7 separate regions of the Homo sapiens genome follow, and all the other regions are linked to region 7. Evidence: promoter capture Hi-C in 16 types of primary human blood cells and fetal thymus (Javierre and others, 2016). All regions are on one chromosome and are shown on one strand. The core of a region is centred on a gene start or on the middle of the fragment in contact, and the rest is flanking DNA. Distances in the headings are between cores, read along the strand shown. Region 1 has its middle 15 kb from the start of TSGA13. Region 2 overlaps LOC105375503 (a long non-coding RNA gene). Region 3 has its middle 6.3 kb from the start of CPA2. Region 4 overlaps CPA4 (carboxypeptidase A4). Region 5 overlaps CPA2 (carboxypeptidase A2). Region 6 has its middle 25 kb from the start of CPA2. Region 7 holds the start of MESTIT1 (MEST intronic transcript 1, antisense RNA).

Region 1 (2,700 bases), core at 119-2,618, 210 kb before region 7:
TTTACAAGAAAAAAACAAACAACCCCATCAAAAAGTGGGCGAAGGACATGAACAGACACTTCTCAAAAGAAGACATTTATGCAGCCAAAAAACACATGAAGAAATGCTCATCATCACTGGCCATCAGAGAAATGCAAATCAAAACCACTATGAGATATCATCTCACACCAGTTAGAATGGCAATCATTAAAAAGTCAGGAAACAACAGGTGCTGGAGAGGATGCGGAGAAATAGGAACACTTTTACACTGTTGGTGGGACTGTAAACTAGTTCAACCATTGTGGAAGTCAGTGTGGCGATTCCTCAGGGATCTAGAACTAGAAATACCATTTGACCCAGCCATCCCATTACTGGGTATATACCCAAATGAGTATAAATCATGCTGCTATAAAGACACATGCACACGTATGTTTATTGCGGCACTATTCACAATAGCAAAGACTTGGAACCAACCCAAATGTCCAACAATGATAGACTGGATTAAGAAAATGTGGCACATATACACCATGGAATACTATGCAGCCATAAAAAATGATGAGTTCATATCCTTTGTAGGGACATGGATGAAATTGGAAACCATCATTCTCAGTAAACTATCGCAAGAACAAAAAACCAAACACCGCATATTCTCACTCATAGCTGGGAATTGAACAATGAGATCACATGGACACAGGAAGGGGAATATCACACTCTGGGGACTGTGGTGGGGTCGGGGGAGGGGGGAGGGATAGCATTGGGAGATATACCTAATGCTAGATGACACATTAGTGGGTGCAGCGCACCAGCATGGCACATGTATACATATGTAACTAACCTGCACAATGTGCACATGTACCCTAAAACTTAGAGTATAATAAAAAAAAAAAAAAAGAAGTTTACGGATAAAAGAAAAAAAAAATAAAGTTTAAATAAAGTTTATAAATTAAAAAAAAAAAAAAAGAAAACACAACCATAAGTCAAAACATTAATTAACCTATTTACATCAAAAAAGCTTTCCAACACCGAGGTAATACTTCACACCCACTGGGATGACTACAAGTGAAAAACAAAAACAAAAACAACAACAACAACAACAACAACAAAAAACCACCAGAAAATAAATGTTTGCAAGGATGTGGAGAAATTGGAACCTCATACATTGCTAGTGGGAATGTAAAATGGTTAGCCATATGATCTAGCATTTACACTCCTAGGTAAATGCTAGCACTATATGCTGCAAATAATAAAAACAGGCACTCAAATAAGCACATGTACACACATGTTCATAACAGCACTATTGATAATAGTCAAAAGGTGGAAACAGCCCAAATGTCTATCAGTGGAAGAGTGGATAAACAAATTGCAGTATATTCATAAGCATATTTTTCAGTGATTAAAAAAAAGGATGAAGTACCGTACCTAATACATGCTATAACATGGATGAACCTCTAAAACATTAGCTAAGTGAAAGAAGCCAGACACCAAAGATCACATATTGTATGATTCCATTTGTATGAAATATCCAGAATAGATAAATTCATAAAGATAGAACACAGATTGGTGGCTGCCAGGTACTGGCAGGTTAGAGAGAAAGAGGAGAAACTGTTTAATGTGCAAAAGGTTTTACTTTAGAGTGAAGAAAATGTTTCAAAACTAGATAGATGCGGTGGTTGCACAATGCTGCAAATGAACTAAATGTCACTGAATTTAAAATAGTTAATTTAAAAAATCTTGGTGGAGGCACACACACACACACAAAAGCTTTCTATCCAGGGAAAAAATTAATGGACAGCTAATAGAATTAAAGAAAATTATTCATACCATTTAAAGCTGACTATGGGTTGATATCTAGAATATATAACAAAATCTTGCAAATTCACAAGAAAATGTCAGCAACTTCATTAAAATAATAGGCAAAAGATATGAATCAGCATTTAAATAAGGAACCAAAAGTTGATAAATATGAAGAAATGTTTAAACTCATTAATAATCAAAGAAATGCAAATTGAAACAACAGTGAAATAGGGAAGAATTAGAAAGTTGAATGATACTAAGTGTGGATGGGGCAATGTGACTTAGCTCATGTTCGCCAAAAGCCAATCTTGAGACATAGATTTATTTTCAAATAACTTATTAAGAAAGTCATCCCAGCATAAACTGGTAAGGAAGTTGGGGATGAAGGACAGAAAAATAGAAGAAACTAAAGAAAGATGTACTGTATTTCAGACAGAGTCCTAGCCTTAATCTGATCCTATAAGGGAGTTCTGGAGAGGAAATTATGCCTCAGCCTGAAAGAGTCTAAGGCAAAGGAGCTGGGCTTTCATCCTTATACTGCAGTGGTCCATTGACTACAGATGTACTGGGGGTACCTAATCTCCCAGACACTTCCTATTCTCTGGGATAAGTGGCTCCAGTAGCCCAAGGGCAATCCTTCAAAGCAGATATTTAAAAGAGGCAGCCATTGTGGAGTGCAATTTGGCATTTCTTTCTTTCTTTCTTTTTGAGACAAAGTCTCACTCTGTCGCCCAGGCTGGAGTACAGTGGCACTCTGTTGGTTCACTGCAACCTCCGCCTCCCGGGTTCAAGCAATTCTCCTGCCTCAGCCTTACGAGTAGCTGGGACTACAGGTGCGAGCCACCACACCCGGCTAATTTTTGTATTTTTAGTAGAGATGGGGTTTTGCCATGTTGGTCAGGTTGGTCTCCAACTCCATGTTGGTCA
Region 2 (2,700 bases), core at 151-2,650, 160 kb after region 7:
TAATGATAAAAATGATTCTGCGTAGTCTTTCTATAGTAACACAAAAGAAGTGCAATCTACATAGGACATTCCAGAGTTGGAACAGGCCGTCAACATTACCCAAAATTGATTTACAACAGGGCCTTTCCAAGACCTGTAAAACCCAGTGACCCCCTATGTTTGATGTGGTTGTGTTTGGAAGCTGGACCTATGAAGGTTTCAGGCAGTGATCCTTTGTCTTAATTTCGTAAAGGAAACTCGATACCTATAGAACCTGGGAAAGCTCCCAGAGAAAGAACCCCAATATTTCCAAACCCAAATAATAATAAAAATTACTTAACATCCAGCTAGTGTTTTTCTGTGATCTGTTGAGATCTTTGTTATTACATTTCATGAACAATCTGAAGCAAATAAGTCTATCACTTTAGGGAAAATGCTGAAGACCTGATTTATAAATGAATTTCCACCACTCAGTGAGAATAATTCTTTTTTGTTTGCTTGCTTGTTTGTTTTTGAGACAGGGTCTCACTCTGTCACCCAGGCTGGAGTGCAGTGGTGTGATCGTGGCTCATTGCAGCCTCAACCTCCTGGGCTCAAGCCATCTTCCCATCTCAGCCTCTTAAGTAGCTAGGACTGTAGGCACATGCCACCACACCTGGCTAATGTTTGTATTTTTTTGTAGAAACGGGGTCTTGCCCTTTTGCTCAGGCTGGTCTCAAACTCCTGGGCTCAAGCAGACTGCCCACCTTGGCCTCCCCAAATGCTGGGCTTACAGGTGTGTGAACCACCAGGCCCAGCTGAGAATAATTCTTTTATTTGTTTATTTTTATTTTTTTAATTTCACTTTAAGTTCCAGGATACATGTGCAGAATGTTCAGGTTTGTTGCATAGGTAAATGTGTGCCAGCTGAAAATAATTCTAACACATATCAAGAGCTTCTACTGCCAGGTAAATAACTGAATGCTTTAATATTCTCTTAGTTAATTCTCTTGATAAGTCATTGCAGATACTATCGTTATTCTTTTAAAGGTGAGAAACTGAGGAGCCAAGAGGTTATCTCATGGGCCAAAGTCATATGTGTCGGTGAAAAAGTTGGTCCATTCCACGGCTTTCCACCACCAGTGACCCAGAATACAGAAGTGGCTATGGTCTGCTCCCTGCCTTCAGGGGGTTACAGTCCAATGAAGGGCTCTGGTGTCAACTGGACAACAGCTAATCCCAAATATACCCCTCATTCTGTCAGCTACTTCACAAAGATCTTCTTTTGGGCCCCAAGAGAATTGGGTGCAACACCTGGAGGTGGCTCGGAGAAACCCATCCTCTCCATTACTGCAAAAAAGAGAACTCAAGACATTTTTCCCCATTATTGATAGACTATACTTTTTCCACCCTCCTTGATGTCTTACTGGTGGAAAATTCCCTACAGACTAATTTGATGAGGTATGAAAGCCTTTCAAACTTAAATGTGCTTCAGAAATTTAAGTCGCTGCCAGGCACGGTGGCTCATGCCTGTAATCCCAGCACTTTGGGAGGCCAAGGCAGGAGGATCACTTGAGCCCAGGAGTTTGAGACCAGTCTGGGCAACATGGAAAGACCCCATCTCTACAAAAGATTTTTTTTTAATTAGCCTAGCTACTCCAGAGGCTGAGGTAGGAGAATTGCTTGAGCCTAGAAGGTCAAGGCTGCAGTGAGCTGTGGTTGTGCCACTGCGTTCCAGTATGAGTGACAGAGGGGAGATCCTGTCTCAAAATAAAAAGTCTAGCCCACCTTTTTTACATGTTTTGAGGAAGTAAACAAAGAATACAGAGAATAAAGTTAAGAATAGTTTATAATACTATCTTCCCTAGCTTTCCAAATCTAGACGGGCTCCCCTACCACCCATCACTCTCCTGACAGCAGTCTGTTTTCTTTTATTTATCGCAGCTCTCCTCACCCAAATTAACTTCTTAATTTAGTTGTTTACTTGAGTACTTCCGGTCTTTCCAACTACAATGAAATTTCATGCAATAAAAGATTTGTCTTCTTCCTTGCAATAATAAAATAATAAAACTGTCTCAAGAGCCAGGTGTGGTGGCTCGTGCCTGTAATCCCAGCATTTTGGGAGGCTGAGGTAGGAGGATCGCTTGAGCCCAGGAGTTTGAGGCTACAGTGAGCTATGATTGCCCCACTGAACTCCAGCCTTGGTGACAGAGCCAGATCCTGCCTCTAAAAAAAGAAAAAAAAAACTGTCTCTAGCACATAGTAGGTACTCAATAAATGCATGTTGAATAGTACAATTTTTGTTTAAAATTAGTATCTTTGTAAACATTTTTAAAATTGGTTTTCAAGTCCATAGAAATAGATTAATTACAATCCATGGTTAGTGGCACACTCATCATTGATCTATGCATGGTCCTCTTTTTTTTTTTTTTTTTTTTTTTTTGAGACAGAGTCTCGCCGAGTCACCCAGTCTGGAGTGCAGTGGCATGATCTCCGCTTACTGGAAGCTCCACCTCCTGGGTTCACGCCATTCTCCTGCCTCAGCCTCCCTAGTAGCTGGGACTACAGGTGCCCGCCACCACACCTGGCTAATTTTTTTTCTATTTTTTTTTAGTAGAGACGGGGTTTCACCGTGTTAGCCAGGATGGTCTCGATCTCCTGACCTCGTGATCTGCCTGCCTCGGCCTACCAAAGTGCTGGGATTACAGGCGTGAGCCACCATGCCCAGCCGCATGGTCCTCT
Region 3 (2,742 bases), core at 236-2,735, 230 kb after region 7:
GAGCCAAGATCACACCACTGCATTCCAGCTTGGGCGGCAGAGGGAGACTCCATCTCAAAAAAACCAAACAAAACAAACAAACAAAGATAAGGATAAGGATGAAGACCAATCTTAACTGCTTCATGCTGACAGGGGGTGCTGTTTTAGGAAAACGGCAGTCAGATCTCCCTCAGAGGCCTATCTAAGGGTCCCCAGGAAAAGGGGAAATCGTCCAAGTCCCAAGTTGCACGATCCTTTGGAGCTTGAGGGCCTGAAGGTGAGAAGAGACAACCTGGGTTATTAGAAAACATGTATCAAAATGAAATAAAGGAGGGTAAGAACAGTGCAAAAACCAAAAGGCCTTTTACCAGTTTGCACAAGGAGAGGCAGGCCAAAAGCCAGACTGATAATAAAAAGGTTTTACCCTTTTGCCAGCATGTCAGGCTTCTGGGTTCTCATCCCCCAAGCCCAGTCCTAAGCCAATGAGTTTAAGGTTTGGCAAATAACTTTTTCCAGTTTGGAAGATGTATCCAAGGAGAGTATATCGTAGTACAGAGACACAATTACCTATCAGTGAAGACAGCACAGAGAAGGAAAAAGGAAAAAAGAAGGCTTTCTTTTTTTTCAAAGGAGCCCCAGGGGTTCAGGATGCATTTGAAAGTGGTGCAGACTGAAGATGAATGGCTACTCATCTAGAAAGAGGGGAGCGAGGCATCCCAGGTTCCCTTCTCTTCCTAGAAAATATCCAGGGTACATAAGGGAGAGAGAAAGTGAGGTGTTCCTCCTGGCAACTGTGACAGAGTGCCACCCATGGGTGTCAAAGTGGCTTTCACTCATGTTAACGGGGGGCCTAGGGGGTGGCAATATCCGCTCTTACCAACATATGCCCTATCTCATCTGCTGTCAGTAGTCTTCAAGTTTTCTAGACCTCATTTATGCCATGGATACTAACATAACCTTTATCCATCAAACAGGAAGCTTGGATTAATCAGCAGGAATCAGTCACACTCTGCTGTGCCTTTTAACTTCCATTATCATCTGCCTCTGGATCCCTCAGACCCAGTTTTATTTCCTAGGGCTTCAATCCAAAGCTCGGAGTTGAGTTTGGGACAAAAATGTGTCTCTGGAAGGGGGAGGCAGTGTTGCATGGACTCCTTATCATAAGTTGAATGCTAAGGTGAAACTATGGAATCAAGCCCTCCTCGAACAAGGGAGAGAAAAGGATGTCCTGTGACATGCCCAGATAATTGGTGGCTATAGTTATGCTTGCTGAGATTTAGGTATGTGGGGCTTGGCTTTAGTTAACTCCCTTGGTCTTACTTTCCCAAAAAGGAAATCTCTGGTTGATGGGCATTCTATTTATTCCCATCACCTGGCAGGATTCACAGAATAATTGCTCAGAACTAGAGTATTGATCCAGATTTTTACATCATCCATCCCTTTTGTCCTTTCTGAGCTGCAGCCAGGGATTTCTGGTTAGTTCACAAGAAAAAGCAAGGTTAGTATAAAATGTAGGCAAGAACTTAAAAACAACTAATGAGTCTAGAATTTAATGACAAATATATGATAAATTTTAAAACATAATTTCTCTCTCTTCAGTCCTCATCTTGTTAAAAACATATCAAGATAGGACTGAGTTGTTTGCAAAATAGACTTTAGTCTGATACTTGGCCTGATTATTTGCATAAAATGCAACAAGAATAATTATTTTTGTATAACCCTTTTAGACTGGTTTTGTTGGAACTCTGTTCCACAAGGAATCTCAGAAAGGACTTTCTAAAGCTGAGCCCAGCCATGGGTTTGTACCTTCAAATACCTGTGAGTTGGGTAAACTCCTCCCTTCTTGAGGTCCCAAGAACATGTGGTTCCTGGGCCTGTTGGAATGCGACATTCTTTACTCACCACAGGTTAGGAACCCTGTACAGGGAATGTGTAGACAAGGTATGAGGCCAGTTTTCCCAAGGGGCTTTTATCAGCTCTGCAAGTTGAGCGTGATTCCTTAAAGGGAAGCATACTCATCCAATCAAAGCTTTGGTAAAACAACCAGTTTCTCCAATCGCATCCTGTTGCAAAAGAAAATGGATTCCTATTGCACTGAGGCAAACAACTATATTGCCATAAGTTAAAAATACTCACAACTAGTTTCCAAATCCTAGGCCTGGCACAGTGGCTCATGCCTGTAATCCCAGCATTTTGGGAGGCCAAGGTGGGTGGATCACCTAAGGTCAGGAGTTCAAGACCAGCCTAGCCAACATGGTGAAATCCCATCTCTACTAAAAATACAAAAATTAGCTGGGCATGGTGGCAGGTGCCTGCAATCCCAGCTACTTGGGAGGCTGAGGCAAGAGAATCACTTGAACCCAGGAGGTGGAGGTTGCAGTGAGCTGAGATCATGCCATTGCACTCCAGCCTGGGCAACAACAGCAAAACTCCATCTCCAACAGAAAAAAACAAAACCAAATTCCAGAGAAGCCAGGCAGAGAAAGGGAGACAAACATGCTCCAAATTTTGTTCACAGGAGGATAGCTTACTGAATTATTAAAGGCCATAAATAGTTCAAAATAAGTTTCCTTGACTCTGAGAAAACAAGGATCAGCAATTTTCCAAGCAAAAGTCAAAAAGATTATTTTAATTCTCTATTAGTTTAGTCAATTTGGTTAATTCTTTTTTTGCTTGATATTCGTGAACATTTCGGCTCTTCATGAGTCCTGTATGTTTTTCCTTTATTCCAATGTCATAATGTCCAAAGTTATCAGAAACCTC
Region 4 (2,833 bases), core at 319-2,818, 190 kb after region 7:
AAAGAGTTGCTTAAGGAGAGAAGGATGGTTGAGGGAGGAAATAGCCAGGCTGTATTTCATGACACTCTGAGGTGCTGGTAGGAGTTCAGCAATCCAAGAATTAGAAAGGAATTGAAGTGTACACATTTTAGCCCCTCAGTGAGGGGATATTGTGCTGAAGACTAATGTCTCCTGGAAGTAAGGAGAGAGGTTACAAAATTCAGGAGGCAGAGAACCTTGATCTTAACCCACTCTGAAACACTTACAGCTTCCAGGGAATGGTAAGCCCCGTAGTTGAAGTTATTACTGCTCCGTTCTTGCCCTTCATTGTGTTGCATTTCATCATCTTCATTGTCTAAAAGGGCCTGAAAACACACAGCAATGTTGTGAAGTGATCCATTGCAGACGCAGGTTTATGTTTTTTCTGCCATATCTTTGCATATGGGTCAGCCAAGATGGCGGCCCTTTCAGCATATCAAGCAGCACAAATGTCAAGGTTTAAAAGGGGGTTAGATTTCTTTCATATCTTTATAAAATTTTATTTCTTGGCTGGGCAGGGTGGCTCATGTCTGTAATCCCAGCACTTTGGGAGGCTGAGGCGGGCGGATCACGAGGTCAGGAGATCGAGACCATCCTGGCCAACATGGTGAGACCCTGTCTCTACTAAAAATACAAAAATTTGCTGGGCGTGGTGGTGCGTGCCTGTAGTCCCAGCTACTTGGGAGGCTGAGGCAGGAGAATCGCTTGAACCAGGGAGTCAGAGGTTGCAGTGAGCCGAGATTGCACCATTATACTCTAGCCTGGCGAAAGAGAGAGACTCCATCTCAAAAAAAAAAAAAAAAAAAAATTTACTTCTTGGGGCCCAATTTACATGGCCTCATTCAAAACCCACTTACTCCCTGGAAGCAACATATGCGCTCTTTGGCTATCCTATAGTATGAACTCTGTAGACATCAGCCCGCATCTGGTATCCAGTGCCTCTGAAATACACAGCTTGGGAAACCATTCAGAAACAAAGAAATTCTTATAACCACTCGTGCTTTGAAGGTTCCTGGCAGATGTCTGTGACATGTGAGGATGATTAATAAGCTCATAGCTGCTAACGCCATCAGGAAACTCCCAGGCCAGATCACCAATTAGTCCATAACCCACCTCGGTGAAGGAGAGAGCATGAGCCAGACCCTGTCCTGATGTTCAGATACAGGTCGTGAGGCCAGAGGACGGCATTCCCTCTGCTGGGGCTATCCATGACATTCCCCCTGTCTCAAAGGGTGCCTCTGTGGCTGGTCCCCAACACCCTCCCTCATCTCTGCTCTTGCCACCTGGAAGGACTTCAAAGAAGGAAAGAAAGAGGGACTTATGACTTAATGGCAGACGTAGGATATGCCAGGCACTGTTAGACATTTTACATACATTTAATCCTGAGTCTTCTCAACAAATCACATGACGAAGGTCTCACTATCACCATTTTACTGATGAAGAAACGGAGGCTCAGCGGGTTAATAACTTGTCCAAAGACACAGCACATAGCACTAGTAGTTAGCAAAATCAGGATTTGGATCCAAATCTGTGTGGTTCCCTGGCCTATTTATGCCCTTTCTACTACAAAATGTTGTTCCTCTAACAAGTCACTGCACTTTACTTCCATTTGCCTCCATTTCCTGGTCTATAAAATAGAAAAGGATAAAACCAGAACTTGCAAATCACTCCGGTCTACTCTGGACTGGCTGCCTGGTCCTATGCAAGAGCAGGAGGCAGGAGGCATAGTCTACCTACCTGCAGGTCCTCAATTGTCACTGCGTACTCTAAGCCCTGGGATCTCAGGAAGGATTTAAATGCCTGCAGACTGACAGATGGGACCAGGACATCCACAGGCCGATTGAAGGAGGAGGGAGATTTCCAGAAATTGAGCTGAAGGGAACAGAAATGAAACCAGGTTAAAGGACCGTTCAGGTAAAATGCACAATGAGGTTATTCTTCTAGAACACTGCCAAAAGCCAGGGTGATCCCTGAGAGGCTAGGCTCTGCCCAAGGGCAAAGTTTGCCCATTTCACAATTGTGTCTGGTTGGACCTGCCCAACAAGCAGTATCTGGCAGAGACCAAGAGTCATAAGTGGATGGCAGCTAGAAGGATGGAGCCTATACTGTTCAAGCATCCCCTCTCCCAGGACACCACAGCTGTGATGTGCTCCCTCTCTCCCATCAGCCCCCTCAATTGTATAAATGGCAAGTGGACTCCCACAGGATTATATTCAGAGACTCCTCAGAAATAAAAATAATAATGCCAGTAGAGCAAGAGTCTTCTCCCAGCAAAGTTAGAAAACACTCAGGAGAGCTAAAAAGAACCAGGTACCTTCAAGTTGTTTGAATTCACTAGTTGACTCAATTTGCTGATCTCGTCTCCATTTCTGACATTAATCCTCAAAACTTGGTCCCTGGGGAAGAAGCGAAAAGGAAAAAAGAGCAAAAGATAATGATGAGCTTTCAGCTGGCAAAGAAACCCCCAAGCCTCCTATCCCAGACGTAACCAGGCCAAAAGAAAGGAAATGGTCTAGTCTTTGGTTTTAATGTATGGCCATTAAAAATGAGGCTACATGGCAACTATGAAAAAGTGCTTATGGCATAACTTTAAGGGAAATATTAAGTGAAAGAGCAGGACACAAAATTGTATGTATGCCATGATTATAAGTATGGAAAAAGCAGATGCATTGGAAGAAAAACAGACAGCGGAAATATACCAAATGCTGACAGCCCTTATGTTCGGGTCGTGGGATTATGGATGACTTACTTTTTTCCCCCTTGTATCTGTTTTCTGTAATGTGATCATATTACTTTATAATGAAAAACACATATA
Region 5 (2,900 bases), core at 227-2,726, 210 kb after region 7:
TTCTCCTCTGGAAGTCGGGGCAAGATTGTCATTGTGTTAGATCAAGTCTCTTCCAAAGGTTATAGTCAGAAAGCCTAACTGAAGTGATTCTGGACACATCTCTTCTTCAAAAAATATGGTTCCTCTATACAGTAGAAAGAGCCATCTAATTAGATCATCTCCTCTCTGTAGGAGTTATTGGAAGAAAAGCTAGATTTAATATTATGGATGGAATTCCTGCATTGGGTGGGAGTTTAGCAAGTTCATTTTCTGGGATCTCATCCAATTCTTAGAGTCCAACAGTAGAAGATTCTATGCATCTGTAATTCCAAGGCACAAAGCCAGAAATGCAAGGAACCTCTGACACCCTTTCTGCAATGAGGAAATCATGACTACATTTGACAACAAGGCCACCTTTGGCCTTGATTTTCTCAGCAACTAGAGTGGCTCAAGACCACTGAAATGGGTCCATTGTAGGCCTGGCCAGGGCTCTCACTGCTAGAGAAACTTCCAGGGGATGAGTAGGGGTCAGGATTCCCTAGGCTCCCCATGTGATACAGACAAAACGTCACCTTATTTTAAAATTATTTAATGAAAATAATATCGGGGGGATTGACATTGAACTGTGGGCCATTGCTCAGTATTGTGCTTTAATTATTTTTCCACTACACTAAAAAAAAAAGAAGAAGAATTGTCAAAGCAATGAATGAAGTTGCCACTCATCCATATCCTGTAGCAGTTCTCTACAGTCCTGTCTTAGTTCCATAACTCTAATTAATTAATTTGTCTTACAAATACATAGTGATTACCTTCTGCGTTGCAGACACTGTGCTAGGTGTTAGGAATACTACAGTGAAAAAGACACAGCTCCTGACCTCAATTTTATCATAGCCTAGTGAGGGGGAAAAAATTTAATTCTATGGTTACTGAAACATAAGGGGTTTTCACCAGTACCTGAGGCCATAAAGGAGCCCCTAACTAGCCTGACACGGAACTCCAAAACATAAGCGCTGTCACAAAGCCAGGGCAGCAAGCTCACATTTTATATTTGAATCTGTTTTGAAAGTCAGTTTCTCCATCCTGTGTGTATGTACTTCTTTTTAGTTTTCTTTCTCGAAGCATCCATAGATGATGTAATGCTTCTCCTTGGAATAGATCCTATCCCCCTCTAGTGGCTGGCTCAGGGCTTCCCGAGTCCTCCCGCCACTGTGCAAAGTCTTGCTCCCGCTGCACAGAAGGCTAACCGGGCGACAGCTTGTGGGAAAACCAAGATGTGAGACAAAATATATTAAATGCTGCTCAGAGCTCTGTGACAGCACTGTGCTCCTGTGAAGGGAATTTAGTTAAGTGTTTTTCAAAGAGGTTTTTAAATGGCTTAAATCCTGGATGGGCTTAGCCAGCTGATGCACTGCAGGGCCATTTGAACCAGCTTGTGGGCCAGACCACGGGCTGACCATCCCTGGGGGCAAGTCCCTGCGCTCACCTCCAAAACCTGCATCCCAGTTCCGGTTAGGATCCACACCAACACAGAGGCTTCCAGATACCTTGGACCGGGTCTTCCGCCACATACGATTCTTTCAGATCCCACCCAAAAAGCACATGGAAAAAAAGAAAGAGGGTCATTCAGCCTGATCAGAAGGTTCCTTTAGAATTCTGTCAATTTCCCTAGTTCTCTGGGACACTCCTTTCCCTTGGCTTGGGGAGGTGTTGGACAGTCCTCATACAGGTTCTGCTAGGAGTTTCTCTGCCATCTCACCAAAGTGAGACATGAATACGCCCCCATCTCCTCAAATGAACGCCTGCCAAACACGTGCCATGGAACCCTAGTTCTGTCCAAGGCCAACAGCAAGAACCAAAAGCAGAAGAGAGGGTTCTGCAATGAGCCTATTTGGGGAAAATATGGAGCTAACTTGGTAAACTTACTTCAGAACTTCTAAGGATTGTTAATGCCTTGTTTTTTATAAACCTCTAAGAAACGGATACGGTGGGCGGTGTTTCCTGGTCTTGACAATGGAACCCTTGATTCATATGGTATCTCATGGGATGAGTACTAGTATTAGTATCAGTTTCTTTGAAAATGTCTTTGAAAACGCTACCGTAGTTAGCTCTTTCTAAAAATAAACTTGAAGCTGTCATTCATCTTGAATATATGTGGGGTCATGGTTGCTACAATAGTGTATTGTAATGAGATTTTAAGGGAAAAAAAAAACCATGTAACTCTTTTAAGTGATATTATGGAGGATTTCTCCCACAGATTTTAAGTAAAATGCTAGATGTACTGTACTGCCCACCTAAATCCTACTGCAATCTAATTGTCAGCAGGTAACATCCGCCTCCTCTTTTCTATCAATCCTACCACAAAAAATTGCAGAGATAATTGGAACAAATCTCCTAGATGACTCATGGTGAACACTGAGCTCTAATAGCCCAGCCTAACAGCTGAAATGGGCTCTGGCTGAGGCAACATATAAAGACATCATGTGTTGGAATAAGAAGTGATTATAACCACTTCTCTAACCCTCATTTCCGGGTGACTACTGAGAAATTAGACATTCCATTTAGAGTAAATCAAGAAAAGAATGAGTATTTTTATTTTGCTTTTGAAGTTCCTACACATCTCCTTAGGTCCTTGTTGAAGAAGGGAACAAAATCCAGGCTTACTTTGGTTTGAGAGAACACGTATCCATCAGGGTTTGTGACTGGCAGGAGGAAGATATCCAGGGCATCCAGAATGGAAGTGATGGATGGGTCCTTTCCATAATCAGAAACAATCTGAGCAAAGACAAGATACATGTCAACCTCACACACCGCTTTTGTTGGGAACACAGGACAGAATAGTAAGGTAGTGTTTTTTCCAGATGTGAACCAGGGATCACTATTGATCAAGGAAAGTCTTCTAGGCATCCAGCAGTCCGGTCTCC
Region 6 (2,828 bases), core at 290-2,789, 250 kb after region 7:
TGTGATTTGGGTTCACCCTAACAGTCCATTTTCCCACTCATCCATCATCTTTTGGGTTCCCCGGAGCCAACCACCCTGGTGGCTCTCTGCTGCCCCCTCCTGCCCCCAGCAGACAACCACTGTGTCAGTCCCCTGGTCCCAAGGTACACCGGGTTCCCGCCTTGTACCAAAGACAATCTTGAGTCTAAAATTCCATCATACAAATTCTTTTTTATATTAAGTCAGTTGGGAAGAACAAATAGATTCCACAAATAATTTGCTGTCTGCAACACCAAAATCCCTCCACGTATATTAACTATTTGTCCTGCTCAGGAGGAGGTAAATAGGGCCATCCATGGCCATGTTGTGAAGGTGTGTCTTTTCACCCTTAATCAGTGTGCTGCTCATGATGATCTCAGTCCCAGATCTATGAATGAGTTCTTCATTTATGGCGTTCCTACTGTGTAACAGGCACTGTTAAGTCATAGAGCCCTGAAGATGAGTAAGAGATTGTATCTGCCTGGAGCTCAATGTCTAGACCACAGCTGTACAGTGGAATGTTCTATATCTACACTCCCCAATGCTGTAGCCACCAGCCACTTGTGGCTATGGAGTACCTGAAATGTGCAAGTGTGACTGGTCACACTAGTGACGTTTTAAATTAATTTTAACTTACATTTAAAAACTGAAGCAGAGTGAAATATTTTTCCTTTAAATGCATACATACCTTATTGTTTTGGTAGGACAACATTTTAACTGTTGAAAATTTAGCACTCAAATTGAAATATGCTGTAAGTAGAACACACACCAGATTTAAAAGACTTAGTGTGGAAATTAGAATGTAAAATATCTCATTAATAATTTTTATATCCATTACATGTTCACATGATAATATTTTGGATATATTGGGTTAATAAAATATAGTATTAAAATTAATTGCACCTGCTCTTTTTAAAATGTAGTTACTAGAAAATTTAAAGTTACATATGTAGCTTGCAATAAATTTCTATTGGAGAGCATTGGTCTAGAGGGAAAAAAATGATATCTGCACAGTCTACTTGTATCATAATAGGTTCCTGGAAATGCATAGGAAAGCCTAATGCATAAAAATTAAACAATAGGGCCGGGCGCAGTGGCTCACACCTGTAATCCCAGCACTTTGGGAGGCCGAGGCCAGTGGATCACCTTAGGTCAGGAGTTTAAGACCAGCATGGCCAACATGGCGAAACCCCATCCCTACTAAAAATACAAAAATCAGCCGGGTGCAGTGGCGCATGCCTGTAATCCCAGCTACTCGGGAGGCTGAGGCAAGAGAATCACTTGAACCCAGAAGGCGGAGGTTGCGGTGAGCCAAGATCAAGCCACCACACTCCAGCCTGGGCTACAGAGCGAGACTCCATCTCAAAAAAATAAATAAATAAAAATAAACAATAGACTTACCTGATATAACAGGGTGAGGTAGTTGCTTCTCAAGAGCTAGACAAAAATCATAAAATTCCCAGTTTCAACCAGCATTAAATAATAACCTTTTATCTCAACTGTAAAAGTAATTCACGTGGCATATTGACAATTACAATATTATAGACATTACTAAGAAAGTTAAAATATTCCTAGAGATAATTAACAGTTTGATCTATATAAAGGCATATTGTTGTTATTGGTTACTTTTTTTTTCTTTCTTTTTTTTTTTTTTTTTTGAGACAGAGTCTTGCTCTGTCGCCAGGCTGGAGGGCAGTGGCACGATCTCAGCTCACTGCAACCTCCACCTCCCTGGTTCAAGTGATTCTCCTGACTCAGCCTCCTGAGTAGCTGGGATTACAGGCGCCCACCATCACACCCAGCTAATTTTTGTATTTTTAGTAAAGATGGGGTTTTACCATGTTGGTTATTTTTCTCTGTGTGGGATTACACTGTATTTTGGGGAGAGCTCAATTGTATTCCACTATGTGAGTATACTGTATTTAACCAATCCCTTATTTACTGCACTCAATTTTTCACTATTTCAAAGTATCTTAAAAAGAATATTCATGTATATGCTGTTAAATAAAATTTGTGGGAGGTCCTTGTTTTGGACTGAGCTCCTGCCCTAGGCCCCAACAGACCAGACCAAACCAGAATGGCGTCACTCATGCTAGGTGCCACATAATCAAACTAAATTTAGAAACCAGCTGGTTTTCCAAAGAACAAGAGATTCACAGCATTTAATCCAAAGGGGCCAGTCAACCTGAGTTGGCATGATATGAAAATCCCCTCTGCTTTAACCCTATAAGGAAAGTAACTTTGAAATGATCAATGCACTTTTTCCTCCTTGTTTTTGCTCTTTTCAGCCTTTTTCTGCCTACATAACCAACCCTCTCTGCTTGGCTCTCACCAAAGCACCTTTCTGTTTCATAGATGAGATGCTGCCCAATTCATAAATCACTAATAAAAGCCGATCAGATTTTTAAAGCTCTATTTGGTGAAATATTGTTCCTTGACAGTACCTTTGTGTGCTTTTATTTTTTTCTGCTTCTAAAATAATATTTTCATAGTAAAACCATTCAAACATCACTGAAAAATATAACCCCCCAAAAAATGATTATTGTCCCCCTCTCCTGTCTCAATCTGTACCTCTGATGATAGCAGTTGGGGCTGGGCACGGTGGCTCACACCTGCAATCCCAGCACTTTGGGAGGCCTAGGTTAGTGGATCACCTGAGGTCAGGAGTTCGAGACCAGCCTAACCAATATGGTGAAACCCTGTCTCTACTAAAAATACAAAAATTAGCCTGGCGTGGTGGCGTGCGCCTGTAGTCCCAGCTACTCAAGAGACTGAGACAGAATTTCTTGAACACAGGAGGTGGAGGTTGC
Region 7 (2,700 bases), core at 39-2,538:
CCGCAGAGCCCGCAGCCGTGCAGAGCTGGCCAGCAGCGGGGGCGCAGCCCGCAGCCCACAGCCCGCGCAGGGCGGCGCCGCGCCGGGCAGCTACAGCCACTCCGGCGTGCGCTGCGGCACTGCGCTTGCGAGGCGCAGCTGCCGCAGAGGAGGTGCCGGGGTGTGCTGGTTGCCGCGGCAGCGCGGAGCGAGTGGGCACCGACTTTTAGAGCCCACCCGCGCCCCGCCCCTAGCCCGCCCATCGCCGCAGAACCCCTACCGCCTGCTCCCTTGCTCGCCGCAGAGCCCCTCCCAGCCGCTCTACCACCGCCATGGCCACAAAGATGGGGTGCCCCTCTAACAGTGGCTCCTTTAGGGGGCACCTTCAGGGGTGTCGAGCCCCCTCCCCAAGACCCCGCTGCTCCCTCGTTAACCGCCAACCCTGAGCCCGAGATTCTGCTGCAGAAACCCTCCCCTGATGAGTTAAGGCCACGGGCAAAAACAGCAGACCCCTGAGTGCCCCAACTCTTTCCTTAGACCACCCACAAACCCCACAGGCCGCCCACAAACCCCACAGGCTGCCCACAAGCCCCACAGGAGGATGGCCGCTCGAACTAAGGGGCAGCAGGGCTCTGGGGTGCCGGCCGTGGCGCCTGCTCCCATCCCTCGTTCGAAGCGTGGGTACTGAACCGTGAGAGGTGGCGAGCCACGAGGGCCCTATGCGCCCTAAGCTTAACTACCGGTAACCACCAAGGGCACGAGCAAGCGGCTAGGGAGCAACAAGCTCTGTTGGACCCACCACCAAGCTAGTAAACAGATTCATGGGATGGCCACTATGGCCAAAGTTGCACAAAGTCCGGTTTCTCCCGCTCCAGCCACCGCCGCTGCGCGGGGCAGGTTTCCTTTACAGCAGCGCGACGTGGTCAGCATGCCAGACGCCTGGCCACAGCAGCGCCCTCGCAGCCCCGCTCGCTGCATGCGCCGGTCCGCGCTGCACAGAACAGTGGGCACAATTAGGAGAGCAAAGCCCCCTTTATTTACGTAAGATAGAATCACAATGCAAGGGCCCAGAGGCACAAGAAAGAGGGAGGAATTTTTCTAATCCATAATCCTTTAAAAGGCATCCCTTACGCCTTTGAAAAGTGTAGAGTATCACGAAGTGTCTGTGTTCATTTTCTGACCGTAAACTGAAATACTGGTGAACAAACGTGGGGTGCGAGCGGGTGAGCGGGGCGGCCGGCCGGTGCCCGCTGCATCCAGAGGGGGCGCTGCAGGCCTCCCTTCGGCTGCGCACGGCCCGGGCCCTCCGCGGCTCTGCAACTCTGCACCCCGAAAGGTTCGGTGCTGGACCGCGGGGCATCCAACCCGGGACCGGGGGCGACCCACGGACACTGAGGAAACTACCGCCTATAAGCCTATCATCAGAACCTCTGGCACAACACAGGTACACTTCTGCAGGGGTCTGGTTGCCCCCAGAAAAAGCACTCATGAAACAAATGCTGATTTAGCACCTACAGGGCACTAAGAACCGGGGGTGCGAAATAAATGAGAAATAGCCCCGGCCCGAAAACAACACACGGGCCATCTGGAGGGGAAGACAGACAAGAACTGCCACTTTGTAAAATTTTCCTTTTAATTTCCTAGCGACGTTTGTGGCAGTTGACCCACTCCTCCCTAACGTGTAAGGCCCTCAGAGGCAGAGCCCAAGTATTATTCACCTTTTGTAGCCCCAGAGCCCGCCACGGTGCCGGCCACAAAGCTGGCCCCTAATAAATACTGCTTGAATGAGTACAAGAATTTGAGGGCGCACAGGGGAGGAAGTAATTAAGGGGAGGGGCGAAGGGTGGTCTTGAATGATGAATAGACATTTACCAGAGAGACAAAGAACATTCCAGCCGGAGGGGACGGCTTTCGCAAAGCACCGGAGGCTCAGGGCCGCGTGTTTGGGGAAAACGGTTAGTCCTTTGAGCCGGCAAAAAATTAGGATAGCAAGAGAATTTCATCGTAGGGAATTAGGAATTTGTTCTAGAGAAAATGAGAAGCCACAGATGGATTTAAACTCTTTATGGCCTTAATTGGTTACTTAACAAAATTTAAATTAGTCTCTTTACAAGTCAAAGATTACCTATTTTAACTACCACTACCTTTTAAAGACTGAATTACTCTGCAAAATCTAAATCGGTTCTTCCAAAAAGGTAAAGGCTTTCCTATTTTAATAATAACAATAACAAAAGCCTTTGCATTATATATTTTTCATATTTATTGTTAATGGAAACTTTGAGTCCTACAAACAAATTCCACACTTTCATTCTCACCAGGCCAGAAACACCAGCATCCAAGATGAAGGCAATTTTCTGTTTATGGACTGAGTACCCCACAAAAGATCTTATTCTGAAGGCCATGGAACATGTCTACCCACATGGATCAAGTGGGCAGACTGGAGGAGAAACAGTTTAAAGGCCCTGGGGGAAGGAGGGAGCGCCAGGGAGAGCTCCTGAAGACAACAGGAATTCCAAGTCTGGCACTCGGGAGAAATCCTCCCTTCAGACATTATTGATGTCTGGCCGAGGAGTTAGGAAAAACTTCCTTGAAGGAGGGATTGAGGTTGAGATGGGCATGGAACCCAGATCTTAGGCAGAGAAAGCATATTCCTGTTTGGAAGAACCCTGAGTACAGAAGTCAGCTCAAAGATATCAGCTTGGCCCAACCAGGAATTCGCTG

Evidence for each region. The method cuts DNA at HindIII sites, captures the fragments that hold promoters and counts their contacts. A CHiCAGO score of 5 or more calls a contact.
Region 1: a contact is called between a fragment that was not itself captured here and the fragment with the promoter of MESTIT1 in region 7, in 2 of 17 cell types (endothelial precursors and M1 macrophages). The highest score is 11.5, in endothelial precursors.
Region 2: a contact is called between a fragment that was not itself captured here and the fragment with the promoter of MESTIT1 in region 7, in 1 of 17 cell types (megakaryocytes). The highest score is 6.3, in megakaryocytes.
Region 3: a fragment that was not itself captured here is called in contact with the fragment with the promoter of MESTIT1 in region 7 in 2 of 17 cell types (megakaryocytes and M2 macrophages); the score reaches 9.6 in megakaryocytes.
Region 4: a contact is called between a fragment that was not itself captured here and the fragment with the promoter of MESTIT1 in region 7, in 1 of 17 cell types (megakaryocytes). The highest score is 7.3, in megakaryocytes.
Region 5: a contact is called between a fragment that was not itself captured here and the fragment with the promoter of MESTIT1 in region 7, in 6 of 17 cell types (megakaryocytes, endothelial precursors, M2 macrophages and 3 more). The highest score is 12.6, in megakaryocytes.
Region 6: a contact is called between a fragment that was not itself captured here and the fragment with the promoter of MESTIT1 in region 7, in 14 of 17 cell types (megakaryocytes, naive CD4 T cells, naive CD8 T cells and 11 more). The highest score is 25.8, in megakaryocytes.

Annotation. Positions count from the first base shown.
Region 1 is chr7:130,700,165-130,702,864 of GRCh38, reverse strand. No RefSeq gene overlaps it. Among named protein-coding and RNA genes, the nearest start is that of TSGA13, 15 kb to the right of the region's middle. The HindIII fragment of the contact is 749 bases long and covers 994-1,742 here.
Region 2 is chr7:130,327,080-130,329,779 of GRCh38, reverse strand. The region is part of intron 1 of LOC105375503 (a long non-coding RNA gene); the gene reads left to right. Among named protein-coding and RNA genes, the nearest start is that of CPA5, 16 kb to the left of the region's middle. The HindIII fragment of the contact is 3,071 bases long and covers 1-2,700 here.
Region 3 is chr7:130,259,160-130,261,901 of GRCh38, reverse strand. No RefSeq gene overlaps it. Among named protein-coding and RNA genes, the nearest start is that of CPA2, 6.3 kb to the left of the region's middle. The HindIII fragment of the contact is 1,051 bases long and covers 960-2,010 here.
Region 4 is chr7:130,298,327-130,301,159 of GRCh38, reverse strand. It overlaps CPA4 (carboxypeptidase A4), which reads right to left. Exons shown (of 11, transcript NM_016352.4): 2 at 2,333-2,414; 3 at 1,756-1,890; 4 at 246-344. Among named protein-coding and RNA genes, the nearest start is that of CPA4, 6.6 kb to the right of the region's middle. The HindIII fragment of the contact is 7,030 bases long and covers 1-2,833 here.
Region 5 is chr7:130,276,479-130,279,378 of GRCh38, reverse strand. CPA2 (carboxypeptidase A2) reads right to left here. Exons shown (of 11, transcript NM_001869.3): 7 at 2,641-2,751; 8 at 1,463-1,553. Among named protein-coding and RNA genes, the nearest start is that of CPA2, 11 kb to the right of the region's middle. RefSeq lists an enhancer at 1,016-1,310. The HindIII fragment of the contact is 8,075 bases long and covers 1-2,900 here.
Region 6 is chr7:130,239,999-130,242,826 of GRCh38, reverse strand. No RefSeq gene overlaps it. Among named protein-coding and RNA genes, the nearest start is that of CPA2, 25 kb to the left of the region's middle. The HindIII fragment of the contact is 4,580 bases long and covers 1-2,828 here.
Region 7 is chr7:130,489,565-130,492,264 of GRCh38, reverse strand. MESTIT1 (MEST intronic transcript 1, antisense RNA) reads left to right here and starts at 1,288. Exons shown (of 2, transcript NR_004382.2): 1 at 1,288-1,423; 2 at 2,298-2,700. It overlaps MEST (mesoderm specific transcript), which reads right to left and starts at 180. Exons shown (of 12, transcript NM_002402.4): 1 at 1-180. RefSeq lists a silencer at 1,143-1,352. The HindIII fragment of the contact is 7,997 bases long and covers 713-2,700 here.